3 separate regions of the Homo sapiens genome follow, and regions 1 and 2 are each linked to region 3. The links are contacts of gene promoters, found by promoter capture Hi-C in blood cells and fetal thymus (Javierre and others, 2016). All regions are on one chromosome and are shown on one strand. The core of a region is centred on a gene start or on the middle of the fragment in contact, and the rest is flanking DNA. Distances in the headings are between cores, read along the strand shown.

Region 1 (2,860 bases), core at 216-2,715, 280 kb after region 3:
TCTCTTCTCTCTAAATGAGAGAACGAGAGAGGGAGGGAACCATGAATTTTGCTGCGTATCTAAATTTTTGGGGGTTTTCAAAAGCCAAACACACTTAAACCACATCTGCAGCTTTCACAATGACTCCAGAATACTTGGGGCGCTAAAGTCACTTTGGTACTTCGAGGTAGTGAATTAAAGAAGTGAAAGTGTTACAGTGACAAGAGAGGCCACTGCTCTGGGAAAGACACAGAAAGGAGCGCGACGTGTAGATGATGAGGAACACGGAACTGAGTGTGTGGCTGCTAATGGCTTTAGATAAATCATCTACAGAGACGCTTCAAAAGGAAATTCTGAACCAAATGGAATGGGTCAAACTTAATCGGATCCTGATCCAAACATTCATTGATGAGACAATGGGGGAAATTTGAATGCTGACTGACTAGCTAATGTTATTAATGTTAAATTTTTTTTAGTATGATAATGGCATTGTGGGGTTTTTTTTTTTGAAAAGTCCTTATTCTTTAGTATTACATGCTGAAATATTTGTGGGAAAAATAATATGATGTCTGGAATTCATTTAAAAATATTCTGAGGTTAGGGAAGGCAAGCAGATAGGCATGAGGAAGAAACAATTTTGACTATGAGTTAGTAAGAGGGACAGGGACCATGTGCATGAGGGATCATTAGACTATTCTACCTACTTTTGGTTTATATTTAAGTTTTACTAAAAAATGGCTGGACACAGTGGCTCACATCTGTAATCCAAGCACTTTGGAAAGCCAAGGTAGGAGGATTGCTTGAGGCCAGGAGTTCAACATCAGCCTGGGCAACACAGTAAGACCCCTTTCTCTACAAAACAACAACAACAACAAAAGAATAGCTGGGCATGGTGGCATGTGCCTGTAGTCCCAGCTACTTGTGAGGCTGAGGTGGGAGGATGGCTTGAGCCCAGGAGTTGGAGGCTGCAGTGAGCTACGATTGTACCACTGAACTCCAGCCTGGCAACAGAGTGAGACCCTGTCTCTAAAAAAAAATACAAAATAAGTAAATAAATGATAATAATAAAATAAACTGGCAAGATGCAGTGGTTCATGCCTGTAATCCCAGCACTTTGGGAGGCTGAGGCAGGAGGATTGCTTGAGGCCTGGAGTTCAAGGCCAGCTTGGGCAACATAGCGAGATGCCATCTCTACAAAAAAATAGAAAAATTAGCAGGGCATGATGTGCACCAGAAGGCCTAGCTACTCAGAAAGCTAAGGCGGGAGGATTGCTTGAGCCCAGAAGTTGGAGGCTGGTGATCAGCCCTTCACTGTGTCTCATTGGGACCTAAGGATAACCCCCCACAAGCCTCCTGACTTCCACCCTGCCCATGCCCCTACCCTCTATTTCCAACACAGCAGCAAAGTGAATGCTTTTTAAAAATTATCTGTAGGTCAGTTCACTCCTCTGCTCAGGACCCTGCGCAGACTCCCCTTCCCGCCCAAAGTGAAAGCCCGCAAGACCCTGCCCTCACTCCACCCTGCAGCAACCATAGGCCCAGATCCAGCTTGGCAGGCTCCATTCTGGGGCCCTCCTACCTCCTTTACCCGGAATGCTCTTCCCCCATCATCCACTGGTTTTCTGCTCCAGGACTCTGTTCACTTATCACCATCTCAGCAGAGCTGCCTCTGCCCACCTAATGCCCCTGCTCCATGCCCACCATTTTTTGGCACTCTTTTTTTTTTTTTTTTTTTGAGACGGAGTCTCGCTCTGTCACCCAGGCTGGAGTGCAGTGGCGCGATCTTGGCTCACTGCAAGCTCCGCCTCCCGGGTTCACGCCATTCTCCTGCCTCAGCTTCCCGTGTAGCGCCCACCACCACGCCCGGCTAATTTTTTGTATTTTTAGTAGAGACGGGGTTTCACCGTGTTAGCCAGGATGGTCTCGATCTCCTGACCTCGTGATCCGCCCACCTTGGACTCCCAAAGTGCCGGGATTACAGGCGTGAGCCACCGCGCCCGGCCTGGCACTCTTGAATTTCCCTTGCTGCTGTACTTTTTCTTTTTTCTACTTACTTTTTCCACTTTCTAACATATTATGTATTTTTGTATGATGTGTATCCCTTATTTTCTGTATCTGAGCAGAGAGAATTTAATCTTGGCTAGGCTCGCTGATATCCTGCACATACCTAGAACAATGCCTAGCATGCAGTAGGTGCTCATTAAAATGAGAAGAATGAGAGAATGGATTCGTGAAAGCTGATTTTCATTCCATTCCAGCCACTTGCAACCACAAAATTCATGAAACATATCTATTGGCTTGAACTGCCATTCTTGCTAGAAGAATCTGCTGATGGTGATCAATGTTTTATACCACCATTTTATTGGTTTTCCTACATTGTAAAACCAATGTTTTACACCTTTTCCTTTGTAGAAAAGGGGAGCATCTCTACTTGTGATCACTATTCATGTATCTGGAGAAAAATACCAATCAATACATTTCCCATTATACCTCCCACATAGAAGGTTTTCATTTTGCTGAGGTTGCAGTTGTTATTTTAGGGACTGTTACTGTTTGTGACTTTGCCATTGAGATTCTGCCAAAGGCTCTGTTTCTGATCAGCAGGCCTTCCGAGAACTGCCGTCCGATCAGCCAGTGGCATTTACCAGGCACCTTCTCAGGGTGCTGAGCCCTTACATGATGCAAAGCACAGCCGAGGCCTCGTCAGCAGCTCAGCCATGACATGCTTCATATCCCACACGATTCACCTCTTGATCTTTAACTGTTTCATGGAGGGAAATTTTAAATCCAGGCTTCCCCCTCTAATGAATTCCCATAAATGTGCATGGGTGTTAAAAATACAAAATCCTAGCAAATGTTTTATATGATATAACAGCAGACT
Region 2 (2,878 bases), core at 102-2,601, 400 kb after region 3:
TAGTGCCTGGATCTAGTGCTTGCCTTCCAGGAACATACTGTTTAATTGATGAAATTAAGTCAGGCACAGATGAAAAGGTTGGTAAGTAACATGTCCAAAGACCACAAGAGACAGATATAAAGTGCTGTCAGATAACAGCTGGCAAGGTCCTTCAACACGTCCGTTGAGATAAATGATAGAATTCCTTCTAAATTTTAAGGGACCAAAAGGATGTGGGCTGGTGGAAAGGAAAGGTTGATCCAAGCAAAGATACTGTCATGTCCAAAGAAATCAAGAACTTTGTTTTGGGTTAGAAGGAGATCTATCTATCTATCTAGAACAGGGCTCCCTGACCTCAGGCTCAGGTTTAGGGGGATCTATGAACGCTGAAACTATATATAAAATATTATGTGCGTGTGCCTTTTTCAAGTGAGACAGTCCATAACTTTCATCAGTGTCTAAAAGGGGATTTCTGCTCTGAAAAGGTTAATAACCTAAATGAATAATGAAAAGTTAGGTTGGTTCGGTTGGCCAATGGGAGGGTGGGTGATAGTTGGGAGACCTTCAGTGCCATATTGAAGAATTTAAAGTTGATGGAATAAAAACATTATCACTTTTTAAATCCCCAAAGTTAAACTATATAACTGTTTCTGCTAATTACTCAGAGAGTAATCACTCAGAAGAGAGTAATTAGCAGAAACAGTTATATAGTTTAGCCTTTTGGACAGGATGATGTTCTACCTGAGAGTTCTGGCTAACTTGTTTGTTCCCCCTAATTTTTTGTCTTTATAGGAAATATTTCTTTAAGGACTCATCAAACTGTGTGCAAACAAGGTCTGTTTCCATCTCTCCCCCTTTTATCATGACATCACTAGAAAGCAGTTTATAGTAGTAATGTCTTTGGAGAAAATAATAAACTACGAAGTCTCTTCCATCTAGGTGCTTTCATTATCTGTATCTGGGCAGGCCCTGACTAGAGAAAAAAAAGAAATTATATTCAAGGACAAAATAGAGACCAGTGTTTGGGCTGGGAAGAACAGAGATTTTATTCTTTAATTTTGAAGGTTGATCATTTGTTACTTTATGAAAAACCTTGTAGCCATTTTTAAATAGTATCTGATCTTGGTCTTTCCCCCTAAAAAAGGCAAGAAAGGTTAAATTCAAAGCTACCTGCACAAATTTCAGACCCATTTTGCCTGAGCTTTTTTGCATTTGTGAAGAAGTGATCAGACTTGACAGTAGAGTTGTTGGGAGAGTTTGAAAGTATGATATGGGTATGGGGTGAAATTGATTTCCAGCTTAATTAAATCTATTGTGAACTTGTTAGTGAAGCAAATCTACATGTTAATTGTTGTAAAGGAGTTCCCCTCAACTCACTTCCATGGGGCTTTGTGTTATTCTCACCGCCCCCTCCCCTGCCTACCATTCCAGTTGCTTACCCACTCATCCTCAGCATGGCAGGCTCGGCCATTCCTCAACAATGACGTTATTTGTCCTTTTAAAATATTCCGATCGCTCATATTTGCTCTCTGTTTCGGACAGCAGTGGAAGGCATTTCAGGAAAAAAAACTGTGTTACTCAAAATAAACATGAAGATAATATTGAGAGGAGTGAAATGAAATAAATTTGCTAGACGGAAAAAGAGAAAAATCCAAAGGAAGGAATGGAAGGCACAAACCCAGTAACATGGTGGCGTGGGTGCTATCTCCAGGTGAACAAGACAGAACTTGCAGGCAACATGGAATCTCATCTCCCATCCCACTCACGTCCTTTCCACTCGGCCCTGCATTCTCTTCTGCAGGTTTGAGATGGCCCACATAGCCAATGTAGAGCTCTTCAGGAGATATTTTTACAGAAAATCCTGATCACATGGCCTCCATTTGTTTATTCTCTTGCCGTTTTTGTTTTTTTTTTTAACTTTTTTTTTTTTTAAGACAGAGTTTCACTTTGTCGCCCAGGCTGGAATGCAATGGCACAATCTGGGCTCACTGCAACCTCCGCCTCCTGGGTTCAAGCGATTCTCATGCCTCAGCCTCCCAAGTAGCTAGGATTACAGGCACCCATCACCATGCCCAGCTAATTTTTGTATTTTTAGTAGAGATGGGGTTTCACAATATTGGCCAGGCTGGTCTCAAACTCCTGACCTAAGATGATCCACCTGCCTTGGCCTCCTAAAGTGCTGGGATTACAGGCATGGGCCACTGTGCTCAGCCTATTTTTTACTTTTTTTAGAGATGGGGTCTTGCTGTGTTACCCAGGCTGGAGTGTAGTGGCATGATCATAGCTCACTACAGCCTTGAACTCCTCTTGCCATTTTTTTTATCCTTAAAATTTCCATGTCTCACTCTCTTGCCAACTGTTCTCTCTCATTTGGTCCCTTGATTCACTCTAAACTCAAACCCTGATAAAGCAGCTGATCGGTGAAGTGTCTGTTGTTACTAAAGTAGAAGTTAGAGGCAGAACAGTGGCAGAGAGCCCTGGAATCTGGCCCTTGGTAGGTGCTCCACAAATGTTTGTTGAACAAATGAATAAGTGGAGCCAGGTTGTCTATGCCCTAGTCCCAGCTCTCTCACATGCGCTAGTGAGAGATATATACATGTATAAAAAAAAATCTCCCTGTGCCTCAGTTTCCTCATCTGTAAAATGGGGAAGATCATTATAGGCTTGTAAATGAAATGAATTAATACTTATAAAATGCTTAAATTAGTCCTGGATCAAAGTAAGCTTTCAATAAATTGTAAGCTCTTATGTTCAAGCTCTCAGAACCAGAATACTCGAGATGCAGACAAAACATTACCTCTCTTAAGAGGTTTGTTGGGGAAAGTATAGCTGGAGTTAAAAATTTAACCTCTTAGATAAGTCACTGTTCAAGCTACTGGTTTTCATCTCCACCATTCCA
Region 3 (2,841 bases), core at 34-2,533:
TACTTTTTGTGTGGGCAATAGAACCCTCTGGGGTGCACTCTCATCTGCTGCTAAAGGATCTCGTTGGCTCCGGTGGACCAAGTGAAAAGACACAGCTTTCTTCTTCTCTATAAAGGGCTTTTTCTTCCTGTGAGGCTTCAAAGGAACAAAATCACAACAATTAATTAAAACAGAACAAAAAGACGGAGAATAATTCCATAGTCCACACATGCATCTTTAGTAGTCATGTTAAAGATACTTTTTAAAAATCTACACTTCTAGGGCAGGCAACATCAGCTGTGTTCTGCAGAATCCATACTTAACCTTCCTTCAACAAACATTCCTTGAGCACCTACTTTGTGCCAGACCTTGTTATGGGAACTGAGAATACAGAAGTGGGAAAGTCAGATAAAGTCCCTGTTCTTAGCAAGAAAATCAAGATAATTTCCGGTGAAGAAAATATAAGACAGTGACGTGAAAATGCCTTAAAAGCTACTTTACACTGGCTGCTCAGGGAAGGCCCCTGGCCGACTGAACTAGAATGACAAGAAGCCTGCCACAACATAATCTGGAGTAGACAGCTCCACACAGAGCATCTACCAACCAGTAAATAAAATCACGACACAAACAGCTAAAGTTTAATAAGATCCATCACCTCTTTCTACATTCTTACTTCGCTATTCAATTTTGATTCTCTAAACTGGGAAACCAATTAAGTGGCTTTACTTTGGGCCCAACCTTATGCTCTCCCACAAGTTCCCTTTCTCAGAGGAAACAGACAGGCAGACACCTGCCACTCCAACGCTGAGGGAGACCAGCAGCTCCCTCTGCTCGACCCCAAGAAGCACAGGGTTGCGCGTTTGTGTCGGCAGTCACCAGCTTTTAGTTAACCGAAATCACGCAGGGCTGCAGGCTCCCAGGGATAAAACAAAAAGGCCATTCTCCTCTCCGGGCCACATCCCAGGGAGGCTCGGCGGTGGGAGACTGTAACTTGCAAAGAATGCCCACGGTGGTGACGTTGGCCCATTTCGGGGTACCGTGCCGCAAGCAGCCTCTGGCATGACCCAGACCCGGGCCGCAGTAGCCAAGGTATTACCGGAAGCAGCCTGGCCTCTGCAAAACCACAGCGCTCGGCCGCCGAAACAAGCAAGGCTTGCTCACCATGCTGCAGCCGCGCGGCGCTCACCCCCAACAGGGGCGGCGATGACACCCTCGAAGTCCGGCGGGGAGACCAAGGTCCAGCTGAAGGCCGCTTCTGTAGGCCTCACCACACGTGCAGCCCCAGGACCCGGCGATAACGTCACCCAGCCGGCCGTGGAAACGGACCAATCGCCGAGGAGCTGATGGGTCGCGACCGGAAGTTACATAGGCTCGCTGCGTCTCCACGATCGCGAGAAGCCACCGGGAGGTGGGGCTAGCTCGGCTCCCACCCCTGGGCGGGCTGTACTTTTCCGGCCTTTAGTCTCCCGCCGGGCAAAGGGAATCGTGGGGGTCCTTAACGTTGAGGCGCCACAGAGGGGTTTCTGCTTGTGGACGAACCTTTTATAGCTCCCTCTACGGAGACCAGAGGGGACGAATCTAGCATCCCCCTTGACTTGTGTCCCTTACCTATTCCCAACCATAAAAAACAAAGCCGCGGACACGGAAGGGAGGCGACCACCCCGCTGGGGTGCTGGGGTCGCCAAGTTTCAGGTTCCCTCTCCGGGTGGGGGCGGAGTCGGTTGCCGTAGCAACGGAGGCTGGGGCCTTGCCTTTATAGACTGCATCAGACTTGATCAGGTTATATTTTCCACTGTTTCATGAACTGCTTTCATCTGCCCTGTTAACCAAACCCCCGAGACTCTGTTAACTGTAGAGGCATTTGAACTAATAAAATATATTCAGAATCTCTGGTGTTTGAATGTTAACTTTCTCCCCCTGTTTAAACAAATAGGCTATAAGCACGCATTCTTAGGAAGATTTCAGGCCGGCGTTGGCGTACTCACATAGCTTTTCTTGGACGAAAGTGTGTGGTAAATGCAGTCACTTTCATCAGCAGACCTTTTTTTCAAATTTGTTTCCCCAACTTCCCAGTTTCTGGTGACCTCTCAATGAATGGCTTACCCTGGATTGTGTCTTTATGCCGTAGGCATTATCACTGTAAGTATTTGTGGAGTATTATTCTTTTATTACAGTAAAAATTATAGAAATAGGCCAGGCGCGGTGGCTCATGTCTGTCATCCCAGCACTTTGGGAGGCCGAAGCGGGTGGATCACCTGAGGTCAGGAGTTCAAGACCAGACTAGCCAACGTGGTGAAACCCCGTCTCTACTAAAAATACAAAACTTAGCCAGGTGTGATGGCAGGTGCCTGTAATCCCAACTACTTGGGAGGTTGAGGCAGGAGAATAGCTTGAACCCGGGAGGCAGAGGTTGCAGTGAGCTGAGATCATGCCATTGCACTCCAGCCTGGGCGACAAGAGCGAAACTCTGTCTCAAAAATATATATATATAGAAATAATTTAGGTTAGGACCATAAAACTTGTCTTAGGATATTGCTTTGTAACAGAGATAATACATAGCACTCCTATGTGCCAGAGATTCGTTGTTATTATTCATTATATAGAATTAAAAGATCCAAGGGGGCAGTTTTCATTTCCTTTCAATCAGTTGTACTTACTGCTGTATCATCAGGGGCCTGATGCATGGGGCATATATGCTCAGTAAGTATTTATTTAAATGAATTAATGTTCTGGCACTTTATCTGAATCATCTCATTTCATCCTCACTGCAACACTATGAAAGAGACGCAATTATCTTCAGCATCTTACAAATCCTAAAAATGAGGCAAGAGAAATACAAACTAAGTACTAAGCCCCCCAGCT

What was found. The method cuts DNA at HindIII sites, captures the fragments that hold promoters and counts their contacts. A CHiCAGO score of 5 or more calls a contact.
Region 1: a fragment that was not itself captured here is called in contact with the fragment with the promoter of LTV1 in region 3 in 7 of 17 cell types (erythroblasts, M1 macrophages, M2 macrophages and 4 more); the score reaches 11.3 in erythroblasts.
Region 2: a contact is called between a fragment that was not itself captured here and the fragment with the promoter of LTV1 in region 3, in 1 of 17 cell types (erythroblasts). The highest score is 5.1, in erythroblasts.

What each region holds. Positions count from the first base shown.
Region 1 is chr6:143,564,459-143,567,318 of GRCh38, reverse strand. All of the region lies in intron 1 of PHACTR2-AS1 (PHACTR2 antisense RNA 1), which reads left to right. It also overlaps a transcript of PHACTR2 not described here. Among named protein-coding and RNA genes, the nearest start is that of PHACTR2-AS1, 3.4 kb to the left of the region's middle. The HindIII fragment of the contact is 5,792 bases long and covers 1-2,860 here.
Region 2 is chr6:143,442,863-143,445,740 of GRCh38, reverse strand. All of the region lies in intron 1 of ADAT2 (adenosine deaminase tRNA specific 2), which reads left to right. Among named protein-coding and RNA genes, the nearest start is that of ADAT2, 6.4 kb to the left of the region's middle. The HindIII fragment of the contact is 2,708 bases long and covers 1-2,705 here.
Region 3 is chr6:143,841,780-143,844,620 of GRCh38, reverse strand. It overlaps LTV1 (LTV1 ribosome biogenesis factor), which reads right to left and starts at 1,283. Exons shown (of 11, transcript NM_032860.5): 1 at 1,141-1,283; 2 at 4-135. The coding sequence starts at 1,143. RefSeq lists enhancers at 780-849, 1,040-1,249, 1,430-1,479. The HindIII fragment of the contact is 13,446 bases long and covers 1-2,841 here.